Linked DNA regions of Homo sapiens: region 1 is linked to region 2. Evidence: promoter capture Hi-C in 16 types of primary human blood cells and fetal thymus (Javierre and others, 2016). All regions are on one chromosome and are shown on one strand. Each heading gives the region's core, a stretch centred on a gene start or on the middle of the fragment in contact. The rest is flanking DNA. Distances are from core to core; before and after follow the strand shown.

What was found. The method cuts DNA at HindIII sites, captures the fragments that hold promoters and counts their contacts. A CHiCAGO score of 5 or more calls a contact.
Region 1: a fragment that was not itself captured here is called in contact with the fragment with the promoter of SLITRK2 in region 2 in 1 of 17 cell types (M0 macrophages); the score reaches 6.3 in M0 macrophages.

What each region holds. Positions count from the first base shown.
Region 1 is chrX:147,790,480-147,796,953 of GRCh38, reverse strand. No RefSeq gene overlaps it. Among named protein-coding and RNA genes, the nearest start is that of FMR1-AS1, 120 kb to the left of the region's middle. The HindIII fragment of the contact is 2,444 bases long and covers 165-2,608 here.
Region 2 is chrX:145,815,827-145,822,113 of GRCh38, reverse strand. SLITRK2 (SLIT and NTRK like family member 2) reads right to left here and starts at 4,285. Exons shown (of 5, transcript NM_032539.5): 1 at 4,088-4,285; 2 at 1,578-1,640; 3 at 230-766; 4 at 1-109. The HindIII fragment of the contact is 7,249 bases long and covers 1-6,287 here.

The DNA of each region.
Region 1 (6,474 bases), core at 137-2,636, 2.0 Mb before region 2:
TTTGGCTTGATTCCAAGCAGGCCTCACCCATCTGTTGCCACATAGTTGCCTCAGATAGTCCAGTCACTGTGCGATTGAGAAAATTATATCTTCATATTAATTACATTCTATTTCCTGGGAAGTATCCTGAGATGTTGATGGATGCTATGGAAATATCCAAAGCTTTAAGCAAAATGCTGCTTCTTGTGTCTTATATTCTCTATCACAAGCTGGTTTGTACTAGCGTCTACCTCATAGGATTGAGCTTGTCCTCCTGTGGTTCCCTGTGCATATTCCTTTCTACCGACTAACAACAGCTACCAGACAGGTTCTCTTTATTTACTGAATTCTGGAAGAGGACCTCTTATCAAGATGGTGGCATATGTTTGAGATAGAAAATAGTCCAGGGAATCCACTTTGCTCTGTAAATGTAAATAAATATAAGACTCGATTATAAAAGGCGACTCCTAGATAAAGGTTTTTTTGTTTGTGTGTTTTGTTTTTTTTTTGTTTTTTGAGATGGAGTCTTGCTCTGTCGCCCAGGCTGCATGACACATGGCAACGATAACATCTTGAACATATTTCTTCACTTTTAAAGCTCCATTTCTCTATCTGATAAATGGAATACATCCACTGATTCGTTATAAAAAGCCCATGAGATTATGCATGGTATGCGCCTGACATAAAATAGGTGTTCAATAAGCAATGCGCATTTTACCTTTTTCTGTTTCCTTTTGTTAGGAAGTACACATTTCCCAAGTTCAAATGGCTACACACTGCTTTATTAGTTTATCATGGCTGCTGTAACAAATTTCCACAAACTTAGTGGCTAAAAACAATGAAAATTTATTCTCTTATAGTTCTGCAGCTGAGTAGTCCAGATTGAGTCTCACTGGGCTGAAGTCAAGGTGTTGGCAGGGCTGGTACCTTCTAAAGACTCTAGGAGAGAATTTGTATTCTTACATTTTCCAGCTTCCAGAGGATGCCTGCATTCTTCGGTTCATGGTTCCTTCCTCACATCACTCAACTTCACGTCTCCTTCTCTGACTCTGACCCTCCTGCCTCCCTCCTTCCCATATAAAGACTGTTGTTATTGGGCTCGCTCAAATAATCCAGGATAATCCCCGATTTTAATTTCCTTAACTCAATCACATCTGCTAAGTCCCTTTTGTCACATATCACAACATAGTCACAAATTTTGTGAATTAGAAATTGGACATCTTTTGCAGGGAGGGCATTATTCTGCCAACCACAGATGTTATGAAAAAGGTGTAAGTTTGATGAGACCTGCATTTCAGGTCCAGAGTTAAGGGTTGGGAAGAGACAGCTCTTCAGCTGAAGCCAAGACATGTTTTCCCTTGCAGTCCTTGAAAGAATGGGCACATAGCAGGGGCAGTTGGATCAAGACCAATACATCTCAGGGGCAGGGTGCTGGAGAGAGGACTGGGATGACACATTTCCACTCATATTTTGTTCCAAGATAGTTTTGAAAACACAGAGTGTTTTCAAGAACATTTGCTGAACATCCAGAAGTACCCAAGTGTTTGTCTTTAAAAGAAAGACTGTCACAATCTAGCCCTTGGGGTCTACAAAATTACCTATCAGGGAAATCAAAGGAACAGAGTAAGATGAGCTAGCATATGTGACCCAGAGGATCACACAGAAAGGTAATCCTAGAGTTTTGAGGGTGTACAATAATGGACTCAGTCCTTCTCAACCTGATTGGGTTTGGGCTCTCTGCCAAAGGAGAAATGGATTTGCTTTAATGTACATCCTCACTTTCAGGTTCTGGGGAACACTTTAGATGCCTGCATCAACCTGGTCCAGGGATTCGTATATATCTGCAAAGAGCCCTTTCACCAAAATCATGGCATGAGATAGAGATTTCTTTCCTTCTAATCTGTATTCCTTCTATTTATTTTGCCTGTATAAGCAAAATATGAACTTTCATTTTGTTCCTTGGCTTCTGCATGTCTTGTTTTGCCCTAAACAATCCTGGATGTAGGATTCAACTCCTCATCTTGTTCCCCTAAAATATCCACTTCCACAAATATGGTAGTGTGTGGTAAGGATATTACTGAAGATTTCATAGCAAACACGGAAGAGAGGATTCATACCACAAACTCCTTGGTTAACTATGGAAAAATTTCCCACTAATGATTTCTTTCTCTTATAGTATCCCCATCACCTTGCCATACTGCCTCTGATGATTAGCTGTCTGCCTCTCTTTTATCTCATACAGTTCCTGTACCTTCACTAATTCCAAAGGAGCCAAAAGTGTGGTAGCAAGTGCTTCCCCTAGAAGCCAAGCCTGCAATATGGTCAAAGCCTTCAAAGGGAACCCTGAGTAAACTTAACTCCAGCACTGGTCTAATTCTGCCAAGTCGTGCCATTCATCTTTCATCCTCTGAATTGCTATTTGTTAAATAGAGGTTTTGGATATGGTTAAAAAATTAATTTCTCTTGAATTTCTTGTCCATTTACATTATTTTTGAGGAAACGTTATTGTGCCTGGGATGACAGATGTCAGCTAGTTAAGGAAGTTGAAGTGAAGTGAGAGTTTCCAGGACACCATTAACAGTCTTGTGTGGTCCAAGGAGTTTCCAGCACTCAGCTGCAGAGGGAAGCTTCCTTGGTGATCACTGATAAGCAATAACTAGACCACGGACTAATTGAAACCTTCCCTGACTGTCCTATGTCTGAAAGTGGGAAATGAATCTTCCCCATTCTTGGTGCCAGAAAGAAAGAAAAAAAGGTGAAGGAGTAGTTAGATATGAGTTAGATATGTTAGTTATCAATTCAGGCATAGTCAGAAGATGAGCACTCACAATTTCTCTCCCACGGAAGCATGGGGTTGGTTTTGGAGTCTGGGAGGCACTGGTCAGAATGTTGGTAGCAGACTGAGCAGACAATGAAAGCGTAGCCTCTTTGGGTTTCGGCCACCTCTATACCTTCTCCCTTGCCAATTAGGAGATCTGAGTGGTGTGTTCAAAGCCAAAGAGCTGTGCAAACCCTGTCACCAAGCTAGATGGCGAGATGCTGACCAGAAGTTGATCATGCCTTGTACAGGCAAGATGACTAAGAAGAAGAATCTAGGTCAAGGACTAGCACACAAATCTCTGTTGCTGACCTCTCCCTGTGGGTGCTCATTTATTTTATTTAAAAATTAAAAACAAATATCTTTCACAGTACTTACATCTCACCAAAAAATTACAGAAATATTAATCATAGTTCTAAGAAAGTGATATGACAATGGCAACTAACAGAATAGAAGGAAGACAATAATATTTTGAACTTCCCTTCTTTCTGGTCCATCCAGAATTCTCCTATCAAGCAGACCTCTCTGGCGTGCACAATACATTACGGATCTACCAATTCCTTAGAGAAAAATGTTTTTGTTAAAGAGATAGCTACATTTACTTGTTTTAAAATAGAAAGCACTATGGCAACTGAAAACATGATTTGTAATAACCTTGTATCCAGGACGGTTCACATAAAAGGCCCAGGCAATAAAAATAGATTATAAAAATATGGAGAGTGCTATAACGAACTTGAATCTTAATTCATATCCACCTCAACATTTTGTGAGAGGATCTGATATGGTTTGGCTCTTTGTCCCCACCCAAATCTCATCTCGAATTGTAATCCTCATGTGTTGAGGGAGGGAAGTGATTGGATCATGGGGGCAGTTTCCTTCATGTTGTTCTCGTGATAGTGATTTCTCACAAGATCTGATGGTTTTATAAGGCACAGTTCCCTGCTCTTGCATGCTCTCCCTCTTGTCTGCTGCCATGTAAGACATGCCTGCTTCCCCTTCCACCATGATGACATGATTGCAAGTTTCCTGAGGCCTCCCCAGCCATGTGGAACTGTGAGTCAGTTAAACCTATTCTTTTATAAATTACCCAGTCTTGGATATTTCTTTGTAGCCATGTGAAAACCGTCTAATACAGCATCTCTTCAGTGTGAGTTACATTCTTTTACATTTCTTAAAAACGTGAAGTTGGACAAATTCAGAAACTTGGTCAAAACTCAAATTGGGCTGGTGAACAATCATGAACAATTTTCTCTCTAATCTCATAATAACCCTTTGCATTTAGACACATTAGGCATAATGTAAACTTTCTACAGAAAAATGTGTGTGCAAATTCCAGGGATTGTGGGCAATAGTGACATTTTTAAAAAGTGACATTTTAGTACATCCTCACTTTCAAAAGCAGCAGGCTTTGGGGATGCTATTTGCCAAATAACCTATGAAAGAGTTTCTTTTAATGTGTGTATACTTAATAAAGGTATTATGGATCTCCTGCCCTAATTTCTAGGTCAGGCCATTCAATTTATCCTCCCTAAAAGATTTTTTGGAGTATCAGTGGAAAAAAATTAGATCAGAGAAACCTCTAGGTAGCAGTGCTATTTTGCCACCTGACAATCCTGCATTCTTTTCCAAAGTTTGTACACAATGGTTTTGGCTTTAGGGCCCATATCAAAGTTCTTTCAACGTTTTTTTTAATCCTGAGGAAGAGAGTCTTACTGATGTTCTCTTGAGTTTTATATAATTTGAATCAATTTAACATACACCATATTTTTCTTGTGCCATCAAGATTAGTTTAACTTAAGAGAGTTGGGTCCACTGCAGTATTTGTTATACAGACCTAAAAACAGTTATTGAAATGCTTGACAATAAAAATGCATTTTGTGTACTATAAGATTTTCTCAAGGGATATATCTTTCTTGGGGGGCACAAGTCACTAGTGACTATTAGAATTAAATTGATAATTAGTATTAATATTTAACTTCCCATTGAGAATTAGATATTAAGAGCTATGGCAGTTCTTCCTAATTAAGTAAAGAGGTAAACATTCAGAGACTCCAGTAATGTCTGATTGTTGAGAGTACTCTTTATAAATTTGACCTCTTGGAGACTTTTAGCATGTAGCAAATATAGATGTTATGGTTGTTTGCTCTACAAATAAATAGATTATACTGAGCTGGAAATCTTTTTGAATTGGTATATCTTTAATGGATCTTTTATTTAATGAGTACCAGGTGAATTTCACATTAAATTTGTTTAGCTTCTGGCAATCCTATGGAAGTAAGTCTTCTGTCCTCCACAGGTAATATTTATGAAAATTCATCAGGTGAAATAATACATGAAAGTATATAAAGAATAACACATTGTCTTTTATAATTCATAATCATCTTTGCATGCTTTCTGTATATTTCTGGTGGTCCTAGAATAAGTGACAATATATTATACAAATATATAAAATAAAGCACATTAGAAGTATAAGCAAGAGGGAAAAAAAGAATTCACAACACAGTCAGATTTTATAGTCATTACATTTCACTGGAAAGCAAAATGTCTCTTCTTTGCCTATTACCTTCCACAGGCTCAATATTGGCATTGGAAAACAAAGTGCTGAGTATGGCACTTCCTGCCTTATTTCCATGATGTATGGGCTAAATCATCAGGGCAGATAATTTGAGTTCATCAGCAATATTGAATTTGTGTTTTAATGTGAACACCTTACCAAGTCCTGGCTTACGAACTTCGCAAATGATGTGTGTCTCTATGTTAGTGTGCTTTGACTTCTGGCCCTTGAAAGCAAACAGCACATATAGTGTCCCACATTCCAAAGCCTCAAGAGATGGAGAGACTGAAGGGCAGAGCACTGCAGGTGGAGGGAACAGCATGGAAAAAGGCATGGGGTTGGGAAAGTATGTTCAGCGAACTACAATGTATCTGTAGCTTGTTTAGAAAAATAGGGTTTATGTTGGAAAGTAATGGCCTATAAACTTATGGTGGATTTTTAATGCCAAACTCCTGAAAAGTAAACTTATTCTGTCTAGATCAGGAGTAGGCAAACTATGGCCCTTGGGTCAAATCCAGCTGGCTGCTTTTTTTTGGAAAACAAAATTGTATTAGAACACTGCTAGACTAATTCATTTACAAGTTGCCTATGCTTGTTTTCATGCTGTAACAGCACAGTTGAGTAATTGTGACAGAGATGATCTAGTCCATAAAGTCCATGACTATAACAATATATTCATATATAAAATAATGTACATTAGAAATATAAGCAAGTGAAAAAAATGAATTCACAACACAGAAATTTTACAGTCATTACTTTTCACTGAAAAGCAAAACATCTCTTCTTTGCCCATTACCTTCCATAGGTTCAGTGTTGACATTGGGAAATTAAGTTCTGAGTATAGCACTTCAACAGTATTTGCTGTTTACATTTTGAAAAAGTTTGCTGACACTTGGGCTGGGCAACGGGGAATTTAAAATGTTTGAGCAGAGGAATGACAAAATCAAAATAGTAACACATGATAGTTATTCTAAAAGTTGCAGGTAGGAGATTTGATACTGAAAGATTAGTTAGGACGATATTGTAGTATAACCCGGATTTTAAAAACTGAGATGATGGCAGTGACAATAAAATGGAAGAGACAGATGTGAGAGAAATGGTACAAGTAGAATCAACTCTGCTG
Region 2 (6,287 bases), core at 3,036-5,535:
GTAACCGAGTTGTCCTACTAAATCCTGCCCATCTCCTCCTCCCCTGGGGTATCTCGAAGAGATCTCGGGCAGCTCGCCCGTCTTGAGCTCCCAGCAGAAATCGCAATCGCTTTAGGAAAAAAAAAAAAAGCGCAAAAAGGGGGTGGGAAAATCAGGAATCAGGGGGCTGGCGGCAGGTGTAGAGGAGAGATAGAGATGGGAAAGACAGTGCGAGGTGGGGGTTACTCACACATCAGGAGAAGACTGAATCCCTCTCCTCTGCAGTCCACCAGGAGTTTAGCATCTTCAGGAAGTGGGAGAACAAGGTAAAATAAGACGCTGCTTCCAGGGGGGATGCCCTGCTTTTTGTTGGTTGATTTAATTTGACTGGGGGTGCGCAGAAATTAAAAATCCGACAGGAGGCAGGAGCGGAAGAGAAGAGTTGGAGCTGAGGGAAGCCGAGCTGCCAGGGAGGGACTGGGGTGCGATTCTGTAGGGAGGTCGGAGAGCCGGCTGGCCCGGTCGGCGGGCGAAGGCGACGACGGAGCCTGGGCGCGCGTTTCCAATTCGGTGGCGGTGGCAGCAGTGCGTCTAGCAGTTTGAATCTGAGAGGCTTTGCAGGCTCCCCGGGACAGGACTAGGGTGACGTCACGGGGGAGGGGGCAGGCAGAGGATCCAGGGCGCGCGGTGGGGGAGGGTTGGGCAGATGCTTCCCTTCCTTGCAAGTGGCTTTGCAAAGCTCAATTCCCGGCTGCGTCAGTTGATTCTGAACTACTCCACCTCCAACCTGGCTGGCGGCAGGAGAAGCTCCTGCAGAGGGGTTTCTCAAGGAGGGGCCCTGCTAATGGCCTGGCACCTCCTTGGGCCCCTCTGTGTGTTCTCTCTCACTCCTCCCTCTTTCTCTCACCTACACAATGCCTATGGAGGGCAGGGGTGGGGGTGGGGGGTTCTTCTCCCAGATTCCCAAGCAAGGGAGAAGCGTGTGTGTGTGTGTGTGTGTGTGTGTGTGAGTGAGAGAGAGAGAGAGAGAGAGTGTGTGTGTGTGTGTGTGTGTGTGTGTGTGGTGTGCCTCTTTGCTACAGGACTGGTGCCCCACTTGCCAGCTCCTAGCTCAGATGCTCTCTGTGCAGAGAGTGGGGTGTGTGTGCATGCACCAATGTGTCTGTGTAGGAGGGTGAGGAGTTCTCTTAGGGGATTTATACTTTACATACAGAGCCCTGATTCAGTGCTAAGAGAATTCCTTTCTGGGTGGTGACCCACCAAACATATTTGCCTGGACTCTGAAAGTCAGCTCAATGTTAGCTTATAGACTGAGAAAAACAAAAACAAACCCCTTTTCTCCCTGAGGTTTATACTTAGCCAGATAATGAGGTTTAAACGTGCACTTCTTGCCTGGAGGAAGGAGAAAAGAAGTGGGTGTCAGAAAAGCACTGCCAGGCTGAGCCTCAGCTGGGAGTGGGAGCCAAAGGAAGGGTGGTTGAGCCCTCCAGGCTGCAGGGGCAGGGGAGCTAGGAGAAAAGAGGAAGCTGGTGCAGGAAGACTGGCTCCTGAGAAAGAGAGGAGATGGAAAAGGAATCCTGGCCTGAGACCGAGCTTACCTGGGTTCTGATCTGGCTCTGTTGCTAGATGTGCCACTAGCTTCTGGATCTTCCTGTGTCCATCTGCAAAAGGCAGGTAGGTAGACTGTATGGGCCCTCCCAGCTCTGATATCCAATGCGGGTTTAAATAGCCTTTCCAGAGCATTGCTAATGGCCAGGTGTTGGATTTTTGCCTTCATTATCTGTTTTCTCCTTAATTATCTTACAGCTCCTTGGACCCAAGAGTCTTCCATTGTGGAATCAATTCGCAAGGGGTAAATAATGTCTGCTGTTGCCTGGAAAGGCCTTGGTTGCCTCTGGTAGGAAGGGGGAGATGGGTCAGGAAAAGGAGGGAATCAACCAGGGAAAAGGAGTTGACCAAATGATGTGCCTGTCCCACAAAACACTTCAGCTTGCTTTCCCGGAGTCCCACTGCCTGGCCAAATGTGGAATAGATAAACACACAGATACAACAAACCACTTGAGAACAGAATGACCCTTGCTTCTCCCCTTCTCCTTCCTTGTTAAGCCTAGGTTCTAGGATTGTTCCCTTTATACAAGCTCCTTTCTCTCCGGGAAGGGCGGGGGTAGTTTATAAACTTAGGCACTAGGGCCACCTGTAGCTGGTGATCTGTGCATTATTTTCTTGAGCTTTCTCCCTTTCTCCTTCTTCTTCTTCTAAGAGCCTTGGACCAGGCATCAGAAGCCCCCTTACCCTCTAATTCTTGCTTGGCGTTTAGCAAAATACTTTCCTTCTGGAGACTCAAATTTTCCTTCTCCATAGAGAAGGGCAAACTTGAGATGAGCTCTGAGGCAGAGGGACAGCCCTGTGGATGGCCTCCCACCCTGTATTGCAATTGCATCATTAGATGGAAGCAGTCTGATGCAGTGGGAGCACAATTAAGCTCCCTTTCCTAGCAAAGGAGGCATTTGTTTCTATGTATTTCCAAAGGTTAAAAGCACATAGTTCCTAGAGCAATAAGATTTATTCATTCAGTCATTCATTCAACAAACATGTATTATGTCAATATTTAACTGAAGTAAAGACGTGAGAGCCGAACAAGACCTTAGAAGTCAGGTTCATTTTACAGATGAGGTCATTTCTTAACCAGGGAAAGTGCTGACTTACTCAAGAAACTACAAATAGAAACAAAACCCAGGGATTATGAGTCCCAGTCCATCATCTTTCCAAAAAGCACACTACTGCTTAATATGAATTAAAAATCTACTTAAACGTAAATAGCAGTGGTAGTGTTTTACTTAAAGGTATCCTTTTTATTAAAAAAAAATGTATTTGAAAGTGAAACATCAAATACTAGTTTCGGTTCTCAGATACAGTAATTTCCTTCAAGACATTGATGACGCTTTCAATATTCCTTGAGGACAGATTATTTTTGCGAAGAATTTCAGAGACAGGAGAGAGATTCAGAGAGAAAGGTGGAGGTGGTTGGGGGCTCATGAGATTCTTGAGACCTACAGAATCAAGGAAATTCATGGGTAATCTAACTGTGGGAAGCGACACTCGGACCCTAAGGAGGTCTTCGTTCCTGCCTGTCCTTGAGAGTCCACAGCTGCTTTCCAAAACGTAGTTACTAGGAACAAATCAGCCTGAAACGCGATAACCACTTTAAGTAAGTTTCATTTGGCCCCGTGTCTTCTGAAGAACTGCCGCAGCACTCCGCTAGGGAGAGCGGGCTTTTAAGGCTGTGGAAAGGTTCAGGGTGAACTGGGACCCCAAGGGAGGGAAAGGCGGTCATTAAAATAAGGAAAACGCTCCCTCTCCTTGCTGAGGCAAGGGAGGCTTAAAGACGAACTCCGTCGCCTGTCTCACTCGCATCTAACCGAGTAGAGCCTGGCTCAGGTCTCCAAGCCTTCCACAGGACACGGTGGGTGCCGGCGGGCTTACAGCCCACCTCCGTCCCGGCCGCCCATCAGGCCACGAGGGGGCTAAGAGGAGTCCGGGGAACCAGAGAGGGGGCACTGCTTGCCCGCAGCCTCTTCTTCTAAACACCCGCCGCCCGCAAGCCGGGTCGAATCCCATTTCCGAAGGGCGCTTCCGGGAGACCAGGTGTCTCCGAGCGTCCCCGATCGCCGGTAACTGGGCACCGGCCGCCAGCGCAGCCCTACCTTCCCTGCCCCTACCTGCTAGACGCCTGGTGCGGTGCCCGGCATGCGGACCTACAGCCGCGACGGCCACTCGGGCTGCCCTCGCCATGGGACTTGGGCACTGCAGGCCGACCGGAGGCTTCTAGCTCGCGCCGGGTGCGTGGGCCCTCCCTGGCCGCCTGTGCCACCCCGCTGCGCGAGGCGCGGAGCCCGACCACGCCCGCGCGGACGGTCCCGGGGTGAGGAATCTCCAGTGGGGATTGAGGGTAGAGGGCGGCCGCCAGCGAGCTGCCCTCCGCGGATGGCGCCCAGCCTCCCCACGCTGGTGCCCCTCGCAAGGAGAGGTGGCCGGGAAAGGCAACGGACTGAGGAAAGCCGGCTCACTGGCCGCGTCGCCACCGCGTCCCTGAGTGCTCAGAACTTACCGAGCGAGCGCGCCGCCCAGATCTTTTCCCGGAGGCGCCCGCAGCATCTGCGACTCGGGGAGGCAAAGGAGCCGGCACCGCCTCGGACTGGCGCAGCCCAGGAGCGAGAGCACCGCGGGGAGCGCGGGCGGCGCCCCCAGGGCAGGCAGATCCCCACCGAGCAGCTAGCCAACGGGCAACGCTTCTTGCAGGAAGGAGGGAGGGAGGCGAGAGGGAGGAGGGAAGTAAAGCGGGAGGGAGGAGAGGGGAAGAAGGGAGGGAGGAGGGAGGAGGGAGGGAGGAGGGAGGAGGGAGTGAGGAGGGAGGAGGGAGGGAGGAGGGAGGGAGGGATCGCGTCCCCCCTCTCCCTCACTTATCAATCACCCCACAGATCAAATATCCGGGCTGTGCACCCAGGACGGGGATGTAAGAGCCCACAAAGGAGCCGCTGCTCCATTTCTCTGACAAGCGCTGCGGAGCACTGCTCACGCCTCTCGGTCCCTCTTGCCTGGAACTCTGCCCAGCCCTTGCGGCTTCCACCCTGGGCTGCAGCTCGGGCTCGGTCAAGTGAAATAAGAATGGCACACGGTCGGTACCATGTCCAAGGGGAGACTAAGACTACTGGGTGGAAGTTAACGACAAGTGAAAGAGCAGTCAGCCATCCGAGCTGGACACCCTCCGGGACAGCTGCCTCCCCTAACTAGTAAGCGCCCAGTCTTTGGGAGTTCGCAGGCAGATATTTAAGAACCTCCTACGAGGATCGTAAACAAGGACTTTCAACATAAGATAGAGCTGAACTTGAGTTGTGCAAGTGTGTTAACAAAGCAAGCCCTTAGCAGCGTTCCAGTGCCCATTTTGATTCCCTTTATTCTTCACGACGACGTTGCCTGGATCTTCTAGAGCGTGATTTTTGCCATCCTCCCTTCCCTTTTCTCCTTTCTTCTTCCTCTTATTAGTAGTCCAGGTGGTTGTGATTCTATTAAAGGAAGGCGCTCTGTGAAAAGAGTCAGTGTAGTTCAAGAGGGAGGTGCGGTTTTTGCCAAGAGCATTGCGTTTCCCCTCAAGACTTGCTTTCTCTAGGGCCTCTCCTCTACTCTTCCAGAGTATTCGAGATAAAGTTGCAGTTTGATAAATTTATGCCAGGAGTAGGGAGTTCATTTGATGACACTAAGTCATTTTCCCCTCCATCCTGTAGGAGAACGTCATTAATTCAAGTCGTTGCCACCCCCTATCCTTTTCATGCCCGCTAGAGTCTGCAAAACCCCAAATCCTTCTTACTGTCGAAAAGCGTGATGGTGGAGAGCAGACGGGGAGGCGAGGAGAGAGGTGCAAAATTAGACGCAAAATTACCTCTCCAGCTAGTGGATCTGCATTGGAATTTGTCTGTTTCCATATTTCCCATGCCTTTCAACTCGTTCTCACAGCACTGACAACCACCTTTTTCTTGTCCTTCCCGTGGGAATCTTTTGTGCTTCTCCTGTCCTCTCTTCTTGGCTTTCTTTCATAATGGTTTTCTAAGGAGATTATGCTGGGCTTTTTAAAAAGAAAACTACTGGCAATCTTATATTATGAAGATGTACAGAGTTTGCTTTAATAATAGTCGGAAGAATTATAATCGTATCTTCGGAGTTGTAAGGGTCATTACTGTTCCTTTTATTTCATTCTTGAGAAAGCCTTTTTGAAATCTTCCTACCATTCAGATAAGCAACTTCGGAATAACATAGTTCTCACATAAGCACGTGGGCAGTGTATGTACGGTTATATATCCAGAAGCATTGCTCTTCTTTTTACAATATCTGTATTAGTGTAAACATCCAATGTGCTGTTTGCTACAGACTAAAAGCAGTGCACTGAGCACATCATATTATTAACTAAATGAGGTCAGTTAATACTGTTACTTCTGTCTTTACCGTATTTCTGACTGTGTCATCTTTTCATGTCGCTTTTAGTAGATGTTATAAACAACTGCAAAACACAGAGCTAAGAGGCCATTCCAATACAGAAATAATGAGACAGTCATGCTGAAAAACTCAGACAGTTTACTAAGAAGGGTGATGTGTCTGTAGCCAAAGGGAACATACAAAATAAGCAAAAACTTCTATACAGAGTAGAGAAGGAACATGGCATTAATGATGAAAAGTGATACTTTATTTAGATCCAGTAGTAACATGTAATAGATGGCATGCATCAATTTTAATTAGCCTTGTAAGCAAGTCTAACC